Linked DNA regions of Homo sapiens: regions 1, 3, 4, 5 and 6 are each linked to region 2. The links are contacts of gene promoters, found by promoter capture Hi-C in blood cells and fetal thymus (Javierre and others, 2016). All regions are on one chromosome and are shown on one strand. The core of a region is centred on a gene start or on the middle of the fragment in contact, and the rest is flanking DNA. Distances in the headings are between cores, read along the strand shown. Region 1 overlaps LOC105370461 (a long non-coding RNA gene). Region 2 holds the start of LRFN5 (leucine rich repeat and fibronectin type III domain containing 5). Region 3 overlaps LOC105370461 (a long non-coding RNA gene). Region 4 overlaps LOC105370461 (a long non-coding RNA gene). Region 5 overlaps LOC105370461 (a long non-coding RNA gene). Region 6 overlaps LOC105370461 (a long non-coding RNA gene).

Region 1 (3,379 bases), core at 846-3,345, 2.2 Mb after region 2:
ATTATATATTATACCTTTTTACATATCCTCCAGAACCCCCTATTTATTTATCCTCAGTCCATCATGGATAGAAAATGCATCTTGTTCAAGCAATACATGTTTTTTCAAAAATTAAAATTCTGTTAAGGGTACTAATTGAAGATATTCTAGATTTACTTCCTCTGACTCCCGAAACTTAAAATTTAAAAACAATGTATAGATACTTGACTCTGTATAATAAGAAGAGAACTCAGCTAGGAAAGAGATGACCATTGCCACTAAGAGATTCCAAATATTTCCTCAAAGGCAAAAAGTGGACAGGAGTGTATTGACAACTGAAGCAGAACATAACATACTAGTGACCCATGCTCCTTTGGGTGTCGCTCTGCCAAACGGAAACTTCTGTGGCTGGCGATGCCTCTGCTTGAGTTCGCTCACACCCACTGGACTATTCCACCCACTCGACCCAGCATGCTGCGCTTCGCTCTCACTATTGGCCCGGATCCCACGGCTACTAAGGGTGAGCCAAGCACTCAGTGACAAGGGATGCATGAGCAAGTCAGTGTGGAATCCGGCCACTGCGCACAGCCAGGCATACCAGCTGCTGCTGCGGAGCGGGCAGCACCAAGCACCAGCACAGGCACTGGCTCCATGTGAGGCTCTGGCTGGACCAGATGTACTGCAAGCAGCTTCTGCTGCAAAGACCAGTGTCTCGATGAGGGGAACAAGGTGGCGCCCAAAAGCCCGGAGATGCCAGGAACCACAGAGCATCCAAAGAGGGTGTTATAGCATGTCACAGCTCTGGCTTAGGAAGCCCCAAGGTCTGGGCTTCCAGAAGGGCTACAGCTCTTCTCTCCTTCTCATTGCCTGCAGTGCAGAGAGCAGGGGATGGCAGCAAGTTTCAGTGGGGAGTGTTTAAGCCCATTTGTGTTATAGCTCTTTCAGTCCCACCACCACAACTGCAGCCCGTGGCTGGCCCAGCCCCACTGCTGCTTCCCACTGCATGGGGCGGCCACCCGGCGCCAACAAAGGGTGGAAGTGCTACAGTGTTACAGCAGCTCTACCTCAGGAAATCCCAAGGTCTGGGTCCCCAGAAGGGTTACCACTCTTCACTCTCATAGTCCAGGAGCGTGTCACTGCCTGCAGCTTGGCAAGCGGGCCAGGAAAGCATTACAGCTCCTTTCACACCTACCATTCAGTGATATCCTAGTTCTTGTCCCATGTCCATGAAGAATGAGGTAACATGGACAACTGGAAGGTGAACAAGGCAGAGATTTATTGAGCAACAGAACAGCTCTCAGTAGAGAGAAGACGTGTAGTGGGTAGCTCCTTTCCACTGGCAGGTCATCCTGAAGAGTATCTGAGTCTGCATGAGTCTAGGGTTTTTATGGGCTCAGAAGGGAGGAAGTGCATGCTGATTGATCCATGGGTAGCCATGGGCAGGCATGGAAAAAGCACCGTAAGTTCTCACTCTGGGCCGCGGACTCCACCCGTAATTGGCAGCCTGGCCCCCAGGCTTCAGGCCATCCCTGGCTTCAAGACGGGGTTTCACCAAGGACCTGCCCCTTCCCACCTAGGAATCTGTCTGCCTCCTGTTGCCATCAACATGCCATTTGTGCCCAGGCTGTCCATGCTGAGGGGAGCCCACAGGCCCACACCAAGCTGCCCTCAGCACCCCCGGTCTCCCTCTTGAGTTCATCAGTGCCCAAAGTTTCAGAGTTTCAGCTCCCTCTGAGCTCATCAGTGCTCAAGGCGGCAGTGGGAGTTGGTGTGTCAGTGTTGCCCCAGGCATGCACACACCTGGCTGGGTCACGACAGTGCCTGGGCTAAGCTATAACTTTGCTCCACACCAGAGTGGAAACTGAGAGCAGGGAGAGGCCAGGGAGAGTGGGAGCAGGCACTTCCGAACTTGCGGGGGCAAGAGGCTCCCTGGGCCCCAGAGAGCACAGGGATGCCCAGGTCTGGAGCCATGGCTGGGTGGTTACAGCTGCACCTAGAAGTGCAGGCTCCTGCCCCACCAATTTGGTAGAGTGTGAGGCTTCCACTGGGATCACCTGTTCCCACCCCCTACGGGCTCCACAGAGGGCACAGCCCCAGGTGCACCCCCTCCTACTGCAGCGGCCTTCACCGCAGCAGCTGCTCCAGATGAGCCGCCACCATCACTAGGAGGAAGCTGCAATTGAGATAAAAGCTGTCCTGTGCACTGAAACCTTAGAGATTCTGGGTTCAGTGCACCTGAGGAACTATCTCTAAGGAACATTAAGGAAAGAGTGAGAAGGTTAGCTAGGAATAGAGATTAACTAAAGATCTGAATACAAGAAAACTATACTAAACAAATCCACCGTTTTCTTCCATCTCTGTCCACAGCAAATACAAGGACCCTAGTATTTACCTTCAGCCAAAAATAGTAATAAAAGGATAGGCCTCCTTTGTGGCAAAACTTCATCTCTCAGACCCTTTATGTCTAGGCAAGACCATGTGTCTAGTTTTAGCCAATGAATGTAGGAAGTAATCTGTCATTTCCTTGCTACGGCAATTAAGAAGTGCCTTCTCCATTCTCTCTTCCCCTTCCATTACAAGAGACAGAGAATCACAGGGCATTTTAAGGATGGTATAACTATAAAACAGAAGGAATTAGGGTCACTGAATCATCACATGAAGGAAAGCCGCCTGCTAAGAACACCTTCAGTGGACAGTTAAAGGAGTGAAAAAATACACGGCTATTTTGTTGACATTAAGATCTTCAGGTTTCCCTTTTATAGAAACTAGCATCTTTATTAATTAGAGCCCTTCTTATAAACGAAAGACAGGAAAAATTAACTTTACACAAATCGTAAGACCCAAATCCAACATCAATAATCATGGGAGAAAGTATGCTTTTTCCATAAAGGTGGGTAAAGGGGAAAAAAGTGAATATTTGCCTAATATTTATCTAACATACTATAATCTAGCCAATTATAGACAGAAGATTGTGACTGCTATGTAGCAAAAGCTGATTAATGTAAGAACAACCAAGAGGCTGGACACGGTGGCTCATGCCTATAAACCCAGCACTTTGGAAGGCTGAGGCAGGAAGATTACTTGAGGCCAGGAGTCCAAAACTAGCCTGACCAACATGGTGAAACCCATCTCCACTAAAAATACAAAAATTAGCCAGGTGTGGTGATGCACACCTGGAGTCCCAGCTACTCAGGAGGCTGAGGCAGGAGAATTGCTTGAACCAGAAGATGGAGGCTGCAGTGAGCCAAGATCACATCACTATACTCCAGCCTTGGCAATAGAGCAAGACTCCATCTCCAAAAAAAAAACCAAGAGAAAAACAAAATATTACGATTATCAAATATTGGTAGGAATATGGAAGAGGGAAAGAGAGTAATGTAATTGAAATACATCTTCATAT
Region 2 (3,636 bases), core at 159-2,658:
CGCGCACGCACACACAGACACACGCTCACACTCACACACACTCGCACCCGGGCGCGCGCGCACTTGCACTCACACTCGCACACGCACACCCAGCACTGCACGGGGAGGAAGCAGCACGGAGGGAACCGGTCCTTCTCACGATTGGCTTCGAAGCCCACCGGACCGCGGGCAGCAAAGAGAGCGTTCTCGCATAGCCCTTTAATCACGTTTCCTTCAAGTTCTCCTCCAACCCGAATCCACGTAATTCAAGAGCTGGTGACATTTTGGTGGGGAGGAGGGAGCCGAGAAAGGGCTGAGGAAGAGTCGGGGATTTTGTTAAGCAGTTTAATAAGCAATCCTCATTACCTTATTTGTTTTGTTTTGTTTTGTATAGCAAACCAGTTCGAAGGGCTGAACTTTTGGCTTCAAATGCTGTGAACCAAAACGTAAATATCCTTCTGGCCAAGAGAAGAAGGTGTAGATACACGGAAACAAGAGGGCTGCAAGACACTCTCTTGACCTTGTGATGTACCTGGAAGCAGGTTAATATTGGCGCTTTCCAAGCTTCTGGGTAAAGCGATCCACACACCTGGGTCCACAGCCCAGCAGCCGCTCCAAATCCAGCCAGGAAAATGGGTCTGGGCGTCCTCAGAGCTCTGCAAGAACCCGGGCATGAAGGGGCATCGCCGAGTTAACACATTTGCTTCTGGGCAGTTGGATAAAAGACAGTCAAATGCATCAGATAGGCGCGCGCGTACACACGCGCGCGCACACACACACGCAGCTAGCTGGAAAGCGGCTTACAAAACACTAGAGACATGCCAAGATGACTTGAAAAGGTAGCCAACATCCAGGATCTTTCCGGAACACAGAAGGGCCAGCAGGGAGGTTATCAAAGTCTTCTCAAGTCTTTCAATTCTTCCTCTCTCCTCTGAGTGTGTGTGTGTCTGTCTAGGTTTCGTTGGTCTGCCCCACCCCCGTCCAGTTGCGCTTTTTTTTTCTGATATAACGGACCGTGCAAAATGGATTATATGGGTGGGCTGTGTTCACAGCCAGAGCTCCCCAAAGTCAAGGATCCTAAGGGAGCAGCCAGCTGCTAAACAATTCACATCCTCAAGGGAAGAAGGAAAAACACGCTCAAACACACGCAAACACGCGCACACACATACATAGTCCTCCGTTCGGGCAGCTCTGCACACGCTCACCGCCTCCCTGCGCGCCGCGGAACACAGCGCCCCGCCCGCTGGCCACCGCGCTGGGGCGAGTCCGCAGTTCAGGCGCGAGGCAAGCAGCCGAGGTCCGGGGCTGCGGCCGCGGCCGGGGCGGACCCGGGAGCTGGGCTTCCCAAAGCGTCGCGTGTGGGCAACGGCGGCCTCCTGGCCGCGTGGAACTGAGCCCTGCGCTGCAGCATGAAGGCGGCGGCGGCGGCGGCGGCGGGCGCGCGGCCGTGAGCTCAGCCCGCGCTGCAGTGACGGGAGCGGCCGTGTCGGCCAGACCCCGAGAGTCCGTGAGACCCCGGCCGGGGCCGCTCCGCTGCTGTCAGCCCTCGGGCCTCCCAGCCAGACTGGTTCTGAACCGATTTATCAGGGGGTTGCGGAGAGGGCCGGCGAAGCGCCAGGAAATCCCCAGGCTGAGGAGGCGCGGGGGCGTTGCAGGAAGGGGGAAGGGAAAAGGCAGAAAACCTGGAGAATGAAAGCGAACTTCCAGGGGCGTCCCCAGCCTCCTGCAAAAGGGCAATTTGCTGATCGCCCACTTCCTCGCAGTTACGGGATAGAGAGAATCATCACTGAGTCAAGCTTCGGCTGCTTAGGGCGGTGGGAAAAGTCATTATCTATAATAACCCGCCGGAAATTTTGAGGAGAGCTACTGACTTGGGGGTTTCAGTCATCTGAGGCTGGCTTCCGCTGTCCCCTTAGTTGTGGGTGGTGATTTGCTTACTAATCAGATGGGAGCGGATTCTGAAAAGAACATTTATATTTGGGAATCAACTCAGCTCAGCATCAGACATTACGAATACTGCAGTTGGTCACATTTTACTATGTGAAGGGCAGAAAGGGAGCCCAACAGTCTTCATAAGCCAGACCTAGTCTCTAAGGTCACCGGCACAGACGCAGGGTCTAAAGCAGGAAAGAGGTGCGACTGGAAAGGAGGTTAGACAGGGCCCTGCGGGAATGGATCTGCCCGGAGCCCTCGCCTGGTTTTGCTTGAGACTCCGACAAGACTCCCAATGCTTCTCTCCCCGACCCTATCCCCACTCCCTCCATCCTGGAAAAGCCAGTGAGCAAAGTTAACTCTTTCTTCTAAGAAACCCTGAGTGAAATCTTGCTCTTCCTTTCTGCTAGAGTCCTGAAACCCTTTCGCTTCTCATTGTGGGTTCACCAGCACGTGGTCTTCGGACACTGAGAGCACCTTCGCTCTCAGCTGTGATCCTAGCTAGCCCAGACACCAGTCTGTACCCAAAGGAAGAGTAGGAAGTTGCAAAGGGAAGCTGGCTAACAAGGGCTTCTTCTGCCCTACTTGGCAAAGGCCCATACGGGTGGCCTCCGTGGATATGGAGCTCCTTCATTTTGTTCCAAAAAGAGCTCTGCCAGGCTTTACCATTGCCCTGGAGGTGCACAGGCGCCCGTATACTCGAGCACAACCATGGGCTCACCCCAAGCGCGCACACCTGCACCCACGCGTAAGGAAGAACCACACAGCTATCTCTGTCGGGGAAGAACACGAGGAGTGAAGTGCTTTAGGTGGAAACTCCTCACATCTCCTTTCTTTCCTCTGCTCCCCCTCTCTGCCCCTGGTACTCCGGATCCAATCCTTGGCTTAGGAATCCACTCAAGCCACGTCTGGCTGCTTTGTTCCAGAGGAGCGCAGCTCCGAGACTGCACTTCAGCGGTGCAGCCTCCCTCCAGGTCGGCGAGCGGCGCCAGATCCGGGACTTCAGGGTCTCCGCGGGAGCTTAGGAGGCTCAGGATCTGAGTTGGAGAGCTGGAAGGCCAAACTCCGAGCCGCTGAGGGACTGCGCAGGAAGACCACAGAAATAAACCAAAGGGACACCGCGGACAGATGTACCAGAGGACACCACTGAAGTCCAGGAGAATCTCCACCAAAACCATCAGCGTTTTCCTTGTAGCTTTCTGTCCCTCGAAGTGGAAAGTTGAGGTTTCTGAGAAGTCCACGGAGAGAACCTGCAGCAAACTGAAGCCACAGACTCCGAAGGCATAGGGAGAAAAAATGCTTCCATCCCCCTTTCACTTTAAACTTGATCGCTTCTGGGACTTCACTGGAGGGCGGTGGAGTTGCACCAACCTGGAGTACAGGCAGATCCCAGCGAGCACTTCCAAGTACTTTAGGACGTGGGGGTGACTCTTTTTTCTTCAGGATTGTCCCACTTGCCACCCTTTCCAGCTGAGCTGATAGGAACCAATGAAAGTCTAGGCGATGAGGATTTTCCGTTACCTCAGGGATCAAAGTATAAAATGTTGAATGAGAAACCCGAAGACCTTGCATCGCTGGGCTGAATAACTTGTTTTCTTTTTTATGGTGTCCAGACTGAGGTAGGGAGGGGACACACTGACCTAGCTGTAAGAAGTCAAGGGTTGGGACAAAACAAAGTTCAAATATATACTGGAATTTGTGTGTGTGTGTGTTTCAGAAACTGTG
Region 3 (3,690 bases), core at 915-3,414, 2.1 Mb after region 2:
CAAGTCAGCTTTATCCCTGGGATACAAGGCTGGTTCAACATACACAAACCAATAAACTTAATTCATCACGTAAATAGAACTAAAGACAAAAAGAGCATGATTATTTCATTAAATGCAGAAAAGTCCTTCAATAAAATTCAACATCGCTTCATGCTAAAAACTCTCAATAAATTAGGTATTGATGGAACATATCTCAAAATAATAAGAGCCATTTATGGCAAACCCACAGCCAACATTATACTGAATGGGCAAAAGCTGGAAGCATTCCCTTTGAAAACTGGCACAAGACAAAGATGCCCTTTCTCACCACTCCCATTCAACATAGTATTAGAAGTGCTGGCCAGGGCAATCAGGCAAGAGAAAGAAAAAAACGGTATTCAAATAGGAAGAAAGGAAGTCAAATGGTCTCTGTTTGCAGATGACATGATTCTATATTTAGAAAACCCCATCATCTCAGCCCAAAAACTCCTTAAGCTGATAAGCAACTTCAGCAAAGTCTCAGGATACAAAATCAATGTGCAAAAATCACAAGCATTCCTATACGACAATATACAAGCAGAGAGCCAAATCATGAATGAACTCCCATTCACAATTGATACAAAGAGAACAAAATACATAGGAATGGTCCCGGTACAGTGGCTCACACCTGTAATCCCAGCACTTTGGGAGGCCAAGGCAGGCAGATCACGAGGTCAGGAGTTCGAGACCATCCTGGCTAACAGATGAAACCCCATCTCTACTAAAAATACAAAAAATTAGTCGGGCGTGGTGGTGCATGCCTGCAGTCCCAGCTACTCAGGAGGCTGAGGTAGAAGAATCGCTTGAACCCAGGAGGCAGAGGTTGCAGTGAGCCGAGATCACGCCACTGCACTCCAGCCTGGGCGACAGAGCAAACTCTGTCTCAAAAAAAAAAAAAACAAAAACCTAGGAATACAGCTAACAAGGAACATGAAGAATCTCTTCAAGGAGAACTACAAACCACTGCTCAAGGAAATAAGAGAGGACACAAACAAATGAAATAGCATTCTATCCTCATGGATAGAAAGAAACAATATCCTGAAAATGACCATACTGCCCAAAGTAATTTATAGATTCAGTGCTACTCCCATCAAACTACCACTGACATTCTTCACAGAATTAGAAAAGACTACTTTAAGTTTCATATGCAACCAAAAAAGAGCCCATATAGCCAAGACAATCCTAAGCAAAAAGAACAAAGCTGGAGGTATCACGCTACCTGACTTTAAACTATGCTACAAGGCTACAATAACCAAAACAGCCTGGTTCTGGCACCAAAACAGACATATAGACCAATAGAACAGAACAGAGAACTCAGGAATAATGCCACAGATCTACAACCATCTGATTGACAAACCTGACAAAAACAAGCAATGGGGAAAGCATTCCCTAGTTAATAAATGGTGTTGGGAAAACTGGCTAGCCGTATGCAGAAAACTGGAATTGGACCCCTTCCTTATACCTTATACAAAAATTAACTCAAGATGTATTAAAGACTTAAATGTAAAACTCAAAACCATAAAAACTCTAGACGAAAACCTAGGCAACAGCATTCAGGACATAGGCATGGGCAAAGATTTCATGACTAAAATACCAAAAGCAATTGCAACGAAAGCTAAAATTGACAAATAGAATCTAATTAAGCTAAAGAGCTTTAGCACAGCAAAAGAAACTACCATCAGAGTGAACAGGCAACCTACAGAATGGGAGAAAATTTCTGCAATCTACCCATGTGAGAAATGTCTAATATCCAGAATTTACAACGAACTTAAATTTCAAGAAAAAAATAACCCTATCAAAAAGTGGGCAAAGAATATGAACAGGCACTTCTCAAAAGACAGTATTTATGTGGCCAAGAAACATGAAAAAAAGCTCAACATCACTATCATTAGAGAAATGCAGATCAAAACCACAATGCGATACCATCTCACACCAGTCAGAATGGTGATTATTAAAAAACCAAGAAACAATAGATGCTGGCAAGGCTGTGGAGAAATAGGAATGCTTTTACACTGTTGGTGCAAATGTATATTAGTTCAACCATTGTGGAAGACAGCGTGGCGATTCCTCGGGGATCTAGAACCAGAAATACCATTTGACCCAGCAATCCTATTACTGGGCATATACCCAAAGGAATATAAATCATTCTAATATAAAGACACATGCACACGTATGTTTACTGCAGCACTACTTACAATAGCAAAGACATGGAACCAACCCAAATGCCCATCAATGATAGACTGGATAAAGAAAATGTGGTACATATACACCATGGAATATTATGCAGCCATAAAAAGAAGGAGATCATGTTCTTTGCAGGGACATACAAAGATGGAAGCCATCATCCTCAGCAAACTAACACAGGAATAGAAAACTAAACACTGCATGTTCTCACTCATAAGTGGGAGTTGAACAATGAGAACACATGGACACAGGGAGGGGAACAACACACACCAGTGCCTGCCGTGGAGTAGGGGGTGAGGGGAGGGACAGCATCAAGACAAATACCTAATGCTTGCAGGGCTTAAAACCTACACGATGGATTGACAGATGCAGCAAACCACCATGGCACATGTATACCTATGTAACTAACCTGCATGTTCTGCATATGTATCCTGGAATTTAAAGTAAAATATAGAAAAAAAAAAGATTTGTTTTCTACCTATGTATAGAATCTTATTTTCCTTAATGAAAGAATTATATTTGCTCATAGTTTTATAGAAATTTCCACAAAGTAAAACATAACAAATATTTCAAAGTAAACATGTAACAGGCCATAGTCATTGATCATAATACAATAATATTACAAATAATTTTTAAACAGCTTGAAACATCGTAATGACTTCAAAATTAAGTTTTGATCAAAGAGAAAAATTACAAATACTCTAGAGGCTACTGAAAAGGTAAATACTTTACATAAAAATGTATGGAACCCAGCAATAGCCACAGTTAGATAAAAATTTATGCCCCTAAATCCTTTCATTACGAAGAAGAATGAAACTGCAGAAACATTATCATGTTTACCTGAACTTTTTTAAGAAAAGCGAAGAGTGAATGAGTTGATCAATGAACAGTTGTAATTGGTGATATAAGGGGAAAAAGTAGTAGAATTGATAAATAATTCCAAGAGTTTTTTTAACTAAAAATATAAATAAACCCTTTATGGTACTGCTTAAAAATATAAGAGGGAAAAAAATATTAGCAAGACTAGGAATAAAGAAAAATGTACAATTTCCTAGAGAATACAAATAATCCAAATTGAACCAAGAAGCAGACCCAAAATGACTAATTAGCAAAGAAAAAAATGGAAAGGTAACCATTATTTTAAATAACAATAGTAATAATAGCATTATACCCAAAAAAACCTTTAAATCTGAGTTTTACCTAACTTTTAAAGAATGGGTATTTATAGTGTTATTTAAATTATTTCATACCAAATAAAAAGATGAAATGTTTCCCAATTCATTTCACAAAGCCAACATAATTTTATTACCAAAAGTTAACATAAAAATAAACCTAAAAACTATGAACCTAATTATTTCAGTTACTATGGCTATATTTAAAAATTACTCCAATACTTAGTAACCCAAAACAACAATATGTGGACAGGTCTCAGGGGGATACTTCATCTCTGCTCCCCTCAGCATCAGCTAGGGTGTCTCAAAGTCTGGG
Region 4 (3,777 bases), core at 976-3,475, 2.0 Mb after region 2:
AGTAGTGGCTGAGAGAGAGCATCCTTGTCTTGTGCCAGATTTCAAAGGGAATGCTTCCAGTTTTTGCCCATTCAGAATGATAATGGCTGTGGGTTTGTCATAAATAGCTCTTATTATTTTGAGATACGTTCCATCAATATCTAGTTTATTGAGAGATTTTAGCATGAAGGCGTGTTGAATTTTGTCAAAGGCCTTTTCTGCATCTATTGAGATAATCATGTGGTTTTTGTCATTGGTTCTGTTTATGTGATGGATTACATTTATTGATTTGCATATGTTGAACCTCTCCACCCCAAATCAACAGAATATATATTCTTCTCAGCACCACATCGCACTTATTCTAAAACTGATCACATAATTGGAAGTAAAACACTCCTCAGCAAATGTAAAAGAACAGAAATTATAACAAGCAGTCTCTCAGACCACAATGCAATCAAATTAGAACTCAGGATTAAGAAACTCACTCAAAACTGCACAACTACATGGAAACTGAACAACCTGCTCCTGAACAACTACTGGGTAAATAATTAAAATAAGGAAGAAATAAATAAGTTCTTTGCAACCAATGAGAACAAAGACACCATGTGCCAGAATCTCTGGGACACGGCTAAAGCAGTTTTTTGATGGAAATTTATAGCACTAAATGTCCACAGGAGAAAGCGCGAAAGATCTAAAATCAACACCCTAACATCACAAAAGAACTATAGAAGGAAGCAAACGAATTCAAAAGCTAGCAGAAGACAACAAATAACTAAGATCAGAGCAGAACTGAAGGAGATAGAGACACGAAAAACCCTTCAAAAAAATCAATTAATCCAGGAGCTGGTGTTCTGAAAAGATTAACAAAATAGACTGCTAGCCAGACTAATACAGAAGAAAAAAGAGAGAAGAATCAAATAGACACAATAAAAAATGACAAAGGGAGATCACCACTGATCCCACAGAAATACAAATGATCATCAGAGAATACTATAAACCCCTCTATGCAAATAAACTAGAAAATCTAGAAGAAATGGATAAATTCCTGGATACATACACCCTCCAAAGACTAAACCAGGAATAAGTCGAATCCCTGAATAGACCAATAACAAGTTCTGAAATTGAGGCAGTAATTAATAGCCTCCCAACCTAAAAAAGTCCAGGACCAGACAGATTCACAGCCGAATTCTACCAGAAGTACAAAGGGAACTAGTACCATTCCTTCTGAAACTATTCCAAACAATAGAAAAAGAGGGAATCCTCCCTAGCTCATTTTATGAGGCCAGTATCATCCTGATACCAAAACCTGGTAGAGACACAACAAAAAAAGAAAGTTTCAGGCCAATATCCCTGATGAACATAGATGTGAAAATCCTCAATAAAATACTGGCAAACCAAATCCAGCAGCACATCAACAGCTTATCCACCTAGATTTGAGATTTTAATCTGCTTTCGACTGCCTGATTATCCACTGCCACAGGCACCAGCTCTATTTGACTCAACAAGCATTTCAAACTTCTCCGTATGCCAGGAATTTTGCTAGGTATTGAGTATAAAAACACAAATAAAACAAGGTGTATTTTTATGTGCTTGTAACATTGGAATGCTTGAAAAATGGAAGTTACATTACAGGTACATGTTTACAAAGTAATGTAAAAGAAGACTTTGTAACAAGGTGCAGGATAGCTGCAGAGGGGTTATTAGGAAAAACCCCTGAGAAATATGGCACATCCTTTCCAGCCCATAGTGTCTGAACAGAGGAACCAGGTCACCAACTTGAGCTCATCACCATTCTTTATGATCCAGGCAACTCTCTCCTGTGCCCTGCTCTGAACATAACATAACAACATTGTCCCTGCCCTAAAGGCTAACAATTCAGGCAGGTGAGACAGCTTGTTCTGACACACTCCTAAATAAGCTTCAAATGTACAAGAGAAAAGCCAGATCAAATCTAAGGAAACAGTGTCAGAAACACAGTAAATCTATGATGACTAACTGACCTAACTTATGACCTATAAAAATCATTTTTCTTCCAAGACAACTAATGTAGTCATAGCCACCACTGTGCCAAACATACAGCTTGATAAATCAATTTAGCCTAAACCAGTACATGGTCCAAACATAATATGGCTTTAAATAACTTTGAAAAATATTTCTAGCGTCTCGAGAGAATTTGCATATTTTTAGATGAGATTTGCATTGCATCTTAAAAATACTTCATTAATTCAACAAATAACTACTGAGTTCTTGGTACATGTACAACACTGTGGAAGGTATTAGCAGGCATAAATAAAAAAGCTCTGCCCCTGAGGCATTTACTACGAAAAACAAAATTTACAGAGTTAGAATCTAATATTTATTACTTGCTCCTGATTGCATGTATTTAGCCTAATTACATAATTAGATGCAATCATGCTGAAAACAAAAGAGAGACTGAATTTTATTTTAAGAAAGCTCTCTTGAGACACAAGATGAGAAAAAAATCAGTAAGTAAGCCAAATGCCAGGAACCAAAAATTCAATCTAAACTATCAATACCAAAAAAGACCACAAAAGGCCAACCGTAAAAGCTTGTGTCTGAGGGTAAAATGAAGAGGTCATCATAGACTATATAGAAAGAAACTGTAGTGTGTGAAGTACTGTGAAACTTTATGTATGGAAAAAAACCTGAAAGATCATCTAATACAAGTCCATGATTTTATGAATTTAAATAATTAATATACTGGACACTTTGTTAATTAGTTTCTAAGGAGACTCTGATCCCTGTCACACAACTAAGCATTTGCTTTCTCCACCATATATGCCAAAAAATTCACATTTTAAAAGCCTTAACATATTACACCTTCTCTTTACAGTGTCTGAACTCCCTTAATTCTAAATACAGAGAACATAACAAAAGACATACTCAAATTACCAATGTGCTGGCCAGTGAGATGCCACATCATTGCCATAGTGGGAAGGGTCATGGTGCAAAGCTCAGCCCTCTGGCTGATTCAGTGCAACCCTTCCCTCCCATCCAGTTTCCTACACCCTATTCTAGAAGGTAGAAATAGTATAACCCTTGGCATGTCTCACACACTGAAGTCATTTTCTCAGGCACTTGAACTGGGCCCTGTAACAGTGCCAACCATCCCTAGCAAATCTGGGAGTAGGGCCTGGATGCTACAACTCAATGCTCTCTGCTTCCTGCTTCTGCAACATCTTCAAAGCCCTCCAGCCCCGCACCTGTTCTGCTGTCTCTGTGTTAGTGAGCTTTTCCATAAGGCAGAATCCTTTCTGTTTCTTTACTTTTAGCTGCCTGGGAAACGTCCTTCTCCAATTACCATGAGTTGTTGGAACAGACAGCATCCTGCTGCTGCCTTGAGACACTGGAATGGTTCTTTTGTTACAGACAGCACTGATTCTTAAAATGAAGATTTCTGCCTTCTTTAGCCTCTCCTCATATTTCAGCCTCCTCTCCCTGCCTCACCCAGCCCCCGAATAATACATCCCATCAGCCTAAATCCTTGTCCTTGGAAAAATCAGGCTATTCCTCTCACTATTTGCATCCGCCTCCTCACTCAGCCTGTTTAACCTCAGTCTCGTGTTTCTCTTCAATTTTTATCAAATAGTTATTCACACTTGGCATTACAGAGGATAGGTAAAAAGCAAAATAAATAAAAATATTCTCCACACTCTTACATGGTTATTAACACTTTTAGTGAAGTTTGACCACATCCAAAACCCTCATTCCCACCCACCAAAAGGCACAATAATATCATAGGTGTTTTATATATTAGTAGGAACATTTTAATATTAT
Region 5 (3,256 bases), core at 621-3,120, 2.0 Mb after region 2:
AAATAAATGAAACTGATACTAAAAAAATACAGAAGATGAATGAAATGCAAGGTTGGTTTTTAAAAGATTAAACAAAATTGACAAACTGTTAGCTAGACTAAGAAAAAAGAAAACTCAAATAAATAAAATCAGAAATGAAAAAGAAGACATAACAATTGAGAATACAAAAAAAACCCACAAAGAATCATTAAAGCCTATTATGAACAACTATATGCCAAAAAATTGGAAAACCTAGAAGAAATAGATAAATTCCTGGACACATACAACCTACCAAGATTGAACCATGAGGAAGTAGAAAACCTCAACAAACCATTAACAAGTAATGCCATAATAAAAAAATCTCCCCTCAAAGAAAAGCTAAGCCCAGCAGCTTCAATGCTGAAATCTATCAAATATTTAAAGAAGAATGAATATCAATTATATTCAAACTCTTCAAAAAAATGAAGAGAAGGAAACACTTTCACACTCATTCTACAAGGCCAGCATTATCCTGATACCAAAACAAGACAAGGATACAATTAAATAAAGAAAACTACAGGCCAATACCACTGATCAGCATAGATGCCAAAATTTTCAACAAAATACTGCAAGCCAAATTCAACAATATATTAAAAACATCATTGACCATAATGAAGTAAGATTCATCCCAGAGATGCAAGGATGGCACTACATACACAAATGATAGGTCACATTAACAGAATCAAGAACAAAAACCATATGGCCATTTGAATAGATGCCAAAAAAGCATTCAATGAAATTTAACATCCTTTTATAATTTTTTAAAAACTGGGTATAGAATGAACATACCTCAAAATAATAAAGGTCATATATGACAAACCCACAGCCAACATCATACTGAACAGGAAAAAAATGTCTTAGAGGAAAGACTTCAAAAAACATCTAAGAACAAGACAAGAGCGCCCACTTTACCATTTTTATTCAGCATAATACTGAAGTCCTCACGAGAGTAATTAGTCAAGGGAAAAAAAATGAAGAACATTCAAATTGGAAAGGAGGAAGTTATATTAGCCTTGCATGCAGACAACATCATCTTATATTTAGCAAAACCTAAAGACTTCACTAAACAAACAAACAAAAACCATGTTAGAGCTGATAAATGAATTCAGTAAGGTTGCAGGACACAAAATCAACAAAGATCCTTGGATTGTATACTTCAACAGCAAACAATCTGAAAAAAAAATTAAGAAAGCCATCCCATTTAGAATAGTTACAAAGAGCTTTAAATACCTAGGAATCAATTGAGCAAAGATGTGAATGATTATACAAAGAAAATTATAAAACTATGATGAAAAAAATTAAAGAGGACAAAAAAATGGAAAGATAGTCCATGCTCATGGATTAAAAGAATCGATATTATTAAAATGACCATTCTACCCAAAGAAATTGACAGATTCAATGCAATCCTTATCAAAACCCCAATGTCATTCTTCAAAGAAACAAACAAACAAAAAAAACTAAAATGTATATGGAACCAAAAAGAGAGCCAAAGAAACCCTGAGGGAAAAAAATGAAGCTAGAGGCATCACACTACCTGTCTTCAAAATATACTACAAAGCTATGATAACCAAATCAACATGGTACTGTCTTAAAAATACATAGACCAATGGAACAAAATAGAGTACTCAGATATAAATCCATGCATTTACAGCCAATTCACTTTCAACAAAGGCTCCCAGAACATACAGTGGGGCAAGGACAGCCTCTTTAATAAATGCTTCTGGGAAAACTGGATATCCATATAGAGAATAAACCTAGTCACTTATCTCTCACTATATACAAAAATAAAATCAAAATGGATTGAAGACTTAAATCTAAGACTTGAAAATACGAAAACATTAGAAAATGTTGGGGAAATGCTGCAGGACATTGGCCTGAGCAAAGATTTTTCTTGTGTAAAACTTCAAAAGCACAGGCAACAAAAGCAAAGAAGACAAATAGGATTACATCAAGCTAAAAGGCTTCTGCACCACAAAGGAAACAATCGTAAAGTAAGGAGACAACCCACAGAATAAGAAAAAATATTAGCAAACTATTCATCTGACAAGGAATTAATAACCAGAAAATATAAGGAGCTGAAACAACTCAATTGCAAAAAAGAAATCCAATTAAAAATTGGGTGAAAGAGCTGAATAAATATTTATAAGAAGACATTCAAATGGCCAAAAAGTATTTTTTTAAAAGTTCAATATCACTAATCATCAGAGAAAAGCAAATCAAAACCACAGTGAGATATCATTTGACCCCAGTTAGAGTGGCTTTTATTAAAAAAAACAGGCAATAATGGATACTGGCAAGGATGTGGAGAAAAGGAAACCCTTGTACATGCTGAGGAATGCAAAGTACAGCGACTATAGAAATCAGTATGGAGGTTCCTCAAAAAATTGAAAACAGAACTATCACGTGATCTAGTAATTCCACTACTGGGTATATAGCCAAAAGAAATGAAACAATATATCAATAAAATATCTGCACTCCCATGTTTATTGTAGCATTAATCCACAATAGGCAAAATATGGAATCAACCTAAGTACCTATCAATGGATGAATAAAGAAAATGTGGTTTTATATATATACAATGGAATGTCATTCAGCCATTAAAAATAATAAAATCCTGTCATTTGCAGCAACATGGATGGAAGTAGAGGTTATTATGTTAAGTGAAATAAGCCAAACACAGAAAGACAAATATTGCACATTGTCATTCATATATGGGAGCTAAAAATTGGATCACATGAAGATAGAGTGGATTAGTGGTTATCAGAGGCCAGGAAGGGTCAGTGAGGAAGGGATGAATAGAGGTTAATTGACAGGTACAAATATGCCATTAGAAACAAGAAATAAGACCTGGTGTTTGATGTATCAGTAGCGTGATGCTACAAACATTAATCTATTGTGCATTTCAAAATAGCTAGAAGAGAATAATTTGCATGTTTCTAGCATAAAGAACAGATAAATATATAAGGTGATGAATATTCCAATTACCCTGACTTAGTTATATGAATGTATCAAATTATCACAAGTAGCCTGAAAATATGGACATCTATTATTTATCAATTTTTAAAAAAAGACCTAGTGTTCAATAAATCAGTAGGTTGACTAGAGTAAACAATAATGTGGTGTATATTTCAAAATAGCTGGAAGAGAATAATTTGAACATTCCCAGCATAAAGAAAAGGTAAATGTTTAAAGTAATAAATACACCAATTACCTTGATTTGATCGTTACATATTAATGT
Region 6 (3,537 bases), core at 629-3,128, 2.1 Mb after region 2:
CATATCAAATAGATAGATAGGACTATTAATGTCTATTAACTGTTACATACCAAATACATAGCTAGGACCATTAATGTCTATAAATTAGAAAGGATACAAAGAAGGTATATGGAAGTCTTAAAAGGAGGTATCAAAAGTCCATATGCAAATGAATGGGCTTACAATCTGTTCCTTATTAAAATAATGACCAGCCTCTAGTACTGATTATGGGAGAAAGGGAGAAGAATTACAGTTTTATGGTGTTCCTGTTTGCCTGTTAGTTTAGCACATTCTGTATTAATATTAAGGTTTTGTTAACAAAATACCTGTAATTGATTATATTTGTGTACTGAAAATCTCAAATGACTCTTTAAAATACTCACTGATGACTACTTGTTCTACATTAACATCATTATCAAGTTATGTTGATAATATTCCTCACCATTTTAAAGAAAAGCAAACTTGGAGAGATTACTTGAACTTCTCAAAATAAAACACATATTTTACTGTTGTTCTGTAACCTGAATCTTGCTCAGCTGACTCCAGATACTCTTTGCACCACATGAAGTTGGCAGTATTGTTACAGATGATTGCATAATACAGTTAATGTGTGTTATATAAAAATGAGGGGAAAATTATTAATTTTGTATATAAATTGTCCTTTTCTTGTTTCAGTTACTCATTACCATATAAAAACCATCCCAAATTTAAAACATAAAGCAACCACCATTTCACTGTGGGTCTCACAGATTATGTGAGTCAGGAATTCGGAAAGGGTACAGCAGGTTGGCTTATCTCTGTTTCACAATGTCTGGGGCCTCAGGTGGGAACACTTGAAGGCTGAAAGTGACTCAAGAGCTGGGAGCTGAAATCACCTAGAAGTTCATTCATTCATATGACTGGTGGTTGATGTAGCTGTAAGCTGGGCTCTCAGCTGGGACTGTCAGTATTAATACCTACATATGGCCTCTCCATGGGCTCTTTGGACTTGCTCACATAATGGTGTCTAAGTTCCACAAACCATGTATCCAAGAAGAGAAGCTATATCATCATTTATGATATAGTCTTGGAAATCACATAGTGCCACTTCTGCTATAGTCACACTCCCACCCAGATTCAAGGAGAGAGAACAGAGACGCTACCTCTCAGTATAAAAACGCTACCTCTCAATATAAAAAGTTCAAAGTTATACTGTAAGAAAACCCAGTGGAATAGGAGTTATGGTTGTGTTCATTTTTGGAAAACACAATCCATGATACTTGTTAATTAAAGATAGTAACTAGCATGCTAAGTACACAGTATCAAGTAAGACATATTGCCTTAATACTAAATGAATAATACTTGATTAGAGAACAATTTTTAAAATCAATAATCCATAAAAAGCAATAAAAGACAAACCAGATTATCATATTATCAGCTGATGAAAACAAGTCAAATAAAATTCAGCAGTTATTCCTAATAAAAACTTTAAGAAATATAGGCCTAAAAGAAAACTATATAAATATGATAGTCTATTCACCACAGCCTACAGAAAATATACTAAACAATAAAACACTAAGTCATTTCAATTAATGTCAGGAAGCAAATAATAGAGTTCCATCACACAGGGATTTTGTCCTTTTTGTTCATTATTGAATCTCTAGCACCAATAAAGCACTTGACACACAAAAACGTGCTCAAGAAATTTTTGCAGAATAAATTGTTTTAAAAATATGAAAAAAGGGGGCAAAGGTAACAAAAAAAGCATGATAAAGAGAAATTAGACCAAAAATGAAGTAATTTATATGGACACTGAAAAGGAAATTAATGATTACATGATTATATATTTAGAAAATATACCAATGAAAGCATCCTGATTTAATAATAAGAATTTGGTAAGATGACTACAGTAAAGTTAAATTTAGAAAAATCAAGAACTTTTTTGTACTTGGAACCAGTAACCAAAAGAGGAAAAGGTGAAAATTTTTCCTCTTACAATAACAGCTAAAACTATAATAGGGGTACAGTAGTAATAAATGTAAACAAGGAAAACACAGAACCTATATGAAGAAAACAAAATCTTAACCTACATGAAGAAAACAAAACCTAATAATGTTATAACAGTTATTGTTATTTAGCCATGGAACACTGGAAAGACATAAATTGTAAAATTCATGTCAAAATTTATATGAATTCTCAAAATTCATATAAATCAAATGTAGTATTTTGTTCGTTTAATAAAATTATGTTAAAATTCATATGAAAGAAAAAATGCCTGAGAATACTCCCAAAAAGTATAAAATATAAGAAGGGTAAAGAGGGACAAACCTAATCAGACACATATAATAAAGCCTCTGCAATCAAATCAATAGGAAAAGTGGTTTGGGATTGAGCAAACAGACCATGGAAAGAGTAGCGAATACAAAAATAGATACCAGTATACAGGAGAGTTTTATATACAAAAATTCATTGGGAAAAAATAGCGTAATAAATGAGGCTGGTTATACATATGGAGAAAAGAATGGTTAATTTGATAGTGTTTGTTATCTATATGGAAAAAAAATACTGGAATGTGATATCAAACTATGTTCCAAAATTCCAGGTGGATTAAAGATTTAAATATAAAAAATTTTGGAACAATACACCCTAAATTTTTCCAAGCAAGAGAGTCAGTTAAGAACATTTGAGATGGATTTAAATATCATCTATATGTTGACAACAAATTATACATTCATACTTTTTATCTCCAGCCCAGGTTTCTCCCCTGAACTTCAGACTTCAATATTAACTACCTACTTGATAGTTTTGTTTGGAAATTTAATAGCAACAAGACTTATCATTTTACATTGTAAGTCACAATGTTTTATTTCCCTGCTCAAAACCCTCCAATGTCTATCATCCCCAGGAAAGAAAAAAAAAAATGCCCTTGCCATGGCCTAGAGGCCCCTAAATGATCTTGTCCCACTTGCTAACTCTCTGACCTCAACTCCTACTACTATTTCTTTGCTTATAATGGTCCATTCCCAATGGCCTTCTCAGTATTCTATGAATACACAAGTATGTTTCAACCTCAGGGCTTTTTCACTTGCTGTTCTCACTGCCTAGACTTGTCTTCTAACCAGACAACCACATGTTTTATTCTCTTTACTCCTTCAGATTTCTGCTCAAACATCATCTCATCAGAGAGGGCTTTCCTGACCATCCTACCTAAATGAGCAATTGCCCCCATCACCTTAACTTGTTTTATTTTCCTCTGTAGTACTTACGACCTATTATAAATTTATTTTCTGATGTGGTTTTGCTGTGTCCCCACCCAAATCTCGTCTTGTAGTTCCCACAATCCCCACATGTCATGGGAGGGTCCCGGTAGGAGGTAACTGAATCATGGGAGCAGTTACCCTCATGTTCTCCTGATAGTGAGTGAGTTCTCACAAAATCTGATGGTTTTATAAGGGGCTTTTTCCCCCTTTGCTCGGCACTTCTTTCTTCTGCCATCTTGTGAAGAAGGACGTGCTTGCTTCCCCTTCCACCATGATTATAATTCTTTATAGCAATGTGAGAACAGACTAATACACTTTC

The links. The method cuts DNA at HindIII sites, captures the fragments that hold promoters and counts their contacts. A CHiCAGO score of 5 or more calls a contact.
Region 1: a contact is called between a fragment that was not itself captured here and the fragment with the promoter of LRFN5 in region 2, in 1 of 17 cell types (M2 macrophages). The highest score is 6.4, in M2 macrophages.
Region 3: a fragment that was not itself captured here is called in contact with the fragment with the promoter of LRFN5 in region 2 in 3 of 17 cell types (M1 macrophages, M0 macrophages and M2 macrophages); the score reaches 8.0 in M1 macrophages.
Region 4: a contact is called between a fragment that was not itself captured here and the fragment with the promoter of LRFN5 in region 2, in 1 of 17 cell types (naive CD8 T cells). The highest score is 6.2, in naive CD8 T cells.
Region 5: a contact is called between a fragment that was not itself captured here and the fragment with the promoter of LRFN5 in region 2, in 1 of 17 cell types (naive CD8 T cells). The highest score is 10.1, in naive CD8 T cells.
Region 6: a fragment that was not itself captured here is called in contact with the fragment with the promoter of LRFN5 in region 2 in 1 of 17 cell types (M2 macrophages); the score reaches 6.6 in M2 macrophages.

Annotation. Positions count from the first base shown.
Region 1 is chr14:39,439,612-39,442,990 of GRCh38, reverse strand. All of the region lies in intron 1 of LOC105370461 (a long non-coding RNA gene), which reads right to left. Among named protein-coding and RNA genes, the nearest start is that of FBXO33, 8.9 kb to the right of the region's middle. The HindIII fragment of the contact is 8,991 bases long and covers 1-3,379 here.
Region 2 is chr14:41,604,648-41,608,283 of GRCh38, reverse strand. It overlaps LRFN5 (leucine rich repeat and fibronectin type III domain containing 5), which reads right to left and starts at 1,408. Exons shown (of 6, transcript NM_152447.5): 1 at 1-1,408. The HindIII fragment of the contact is 1,232 bases long and covers 546-1,777 here.
Region 3 is chr14:39,474,980-39,478,669 of GRCh38, reverse strand. All of the region lies in intron 2 of LOC105370461 (a long non-coding RNA gene), which reads right to left. All of the region lies in intron 1 of LOC105370460 (a long non-coding RNA gene), which reads right to left. Among named protein-coding and RNA genes, the nearest start is that of FBXO33, 44 kb to the right of the region's middle. The HindIII fragment of the contact is 4,354 bases long and covers 1-3,690 here.
Region 4 is chr14:39,591,772-39,595,548 of GRCh38, reverse strand. All of the region lies in intron 2 of LOC105370461 (a long non-coding RNA gene), which reads right to left. Among named protein-coding and RNA genes, the nearest start is that of FBXO33, 160 kb to the right of the region's middle. The HindIII fragment of the contact is 651 bases long and covers 1,900-2,550 here.
Region 5 is chr14:39,570,506-39,573,761 of GRCh38, reverse strand. All of the region lies in intron 2 of LOC105370461 (a long non-coding RNA gene), which reads right to left. Among named protein-coding and RNA genes, the nearest start is that of FBXO33, 140 kb to the right of the region's middle. The HindIII fragment of the contact is 7,780 bases long and covers 1-3,256 here.
Region 6 is chr14:39,457,282-39,460,818 of GRCh38, reverse strand. The region is part of intron 1 of LOC105370461 (a long non-coding RNA gene); the gene reads right to left. Among named protein-coding and RNA genes, the nearest start is that of FBXO33, 27 kb to the right of the region's middle. The HindIII fragment of the contact is 9,042 bases long and covers 1-3,537 here.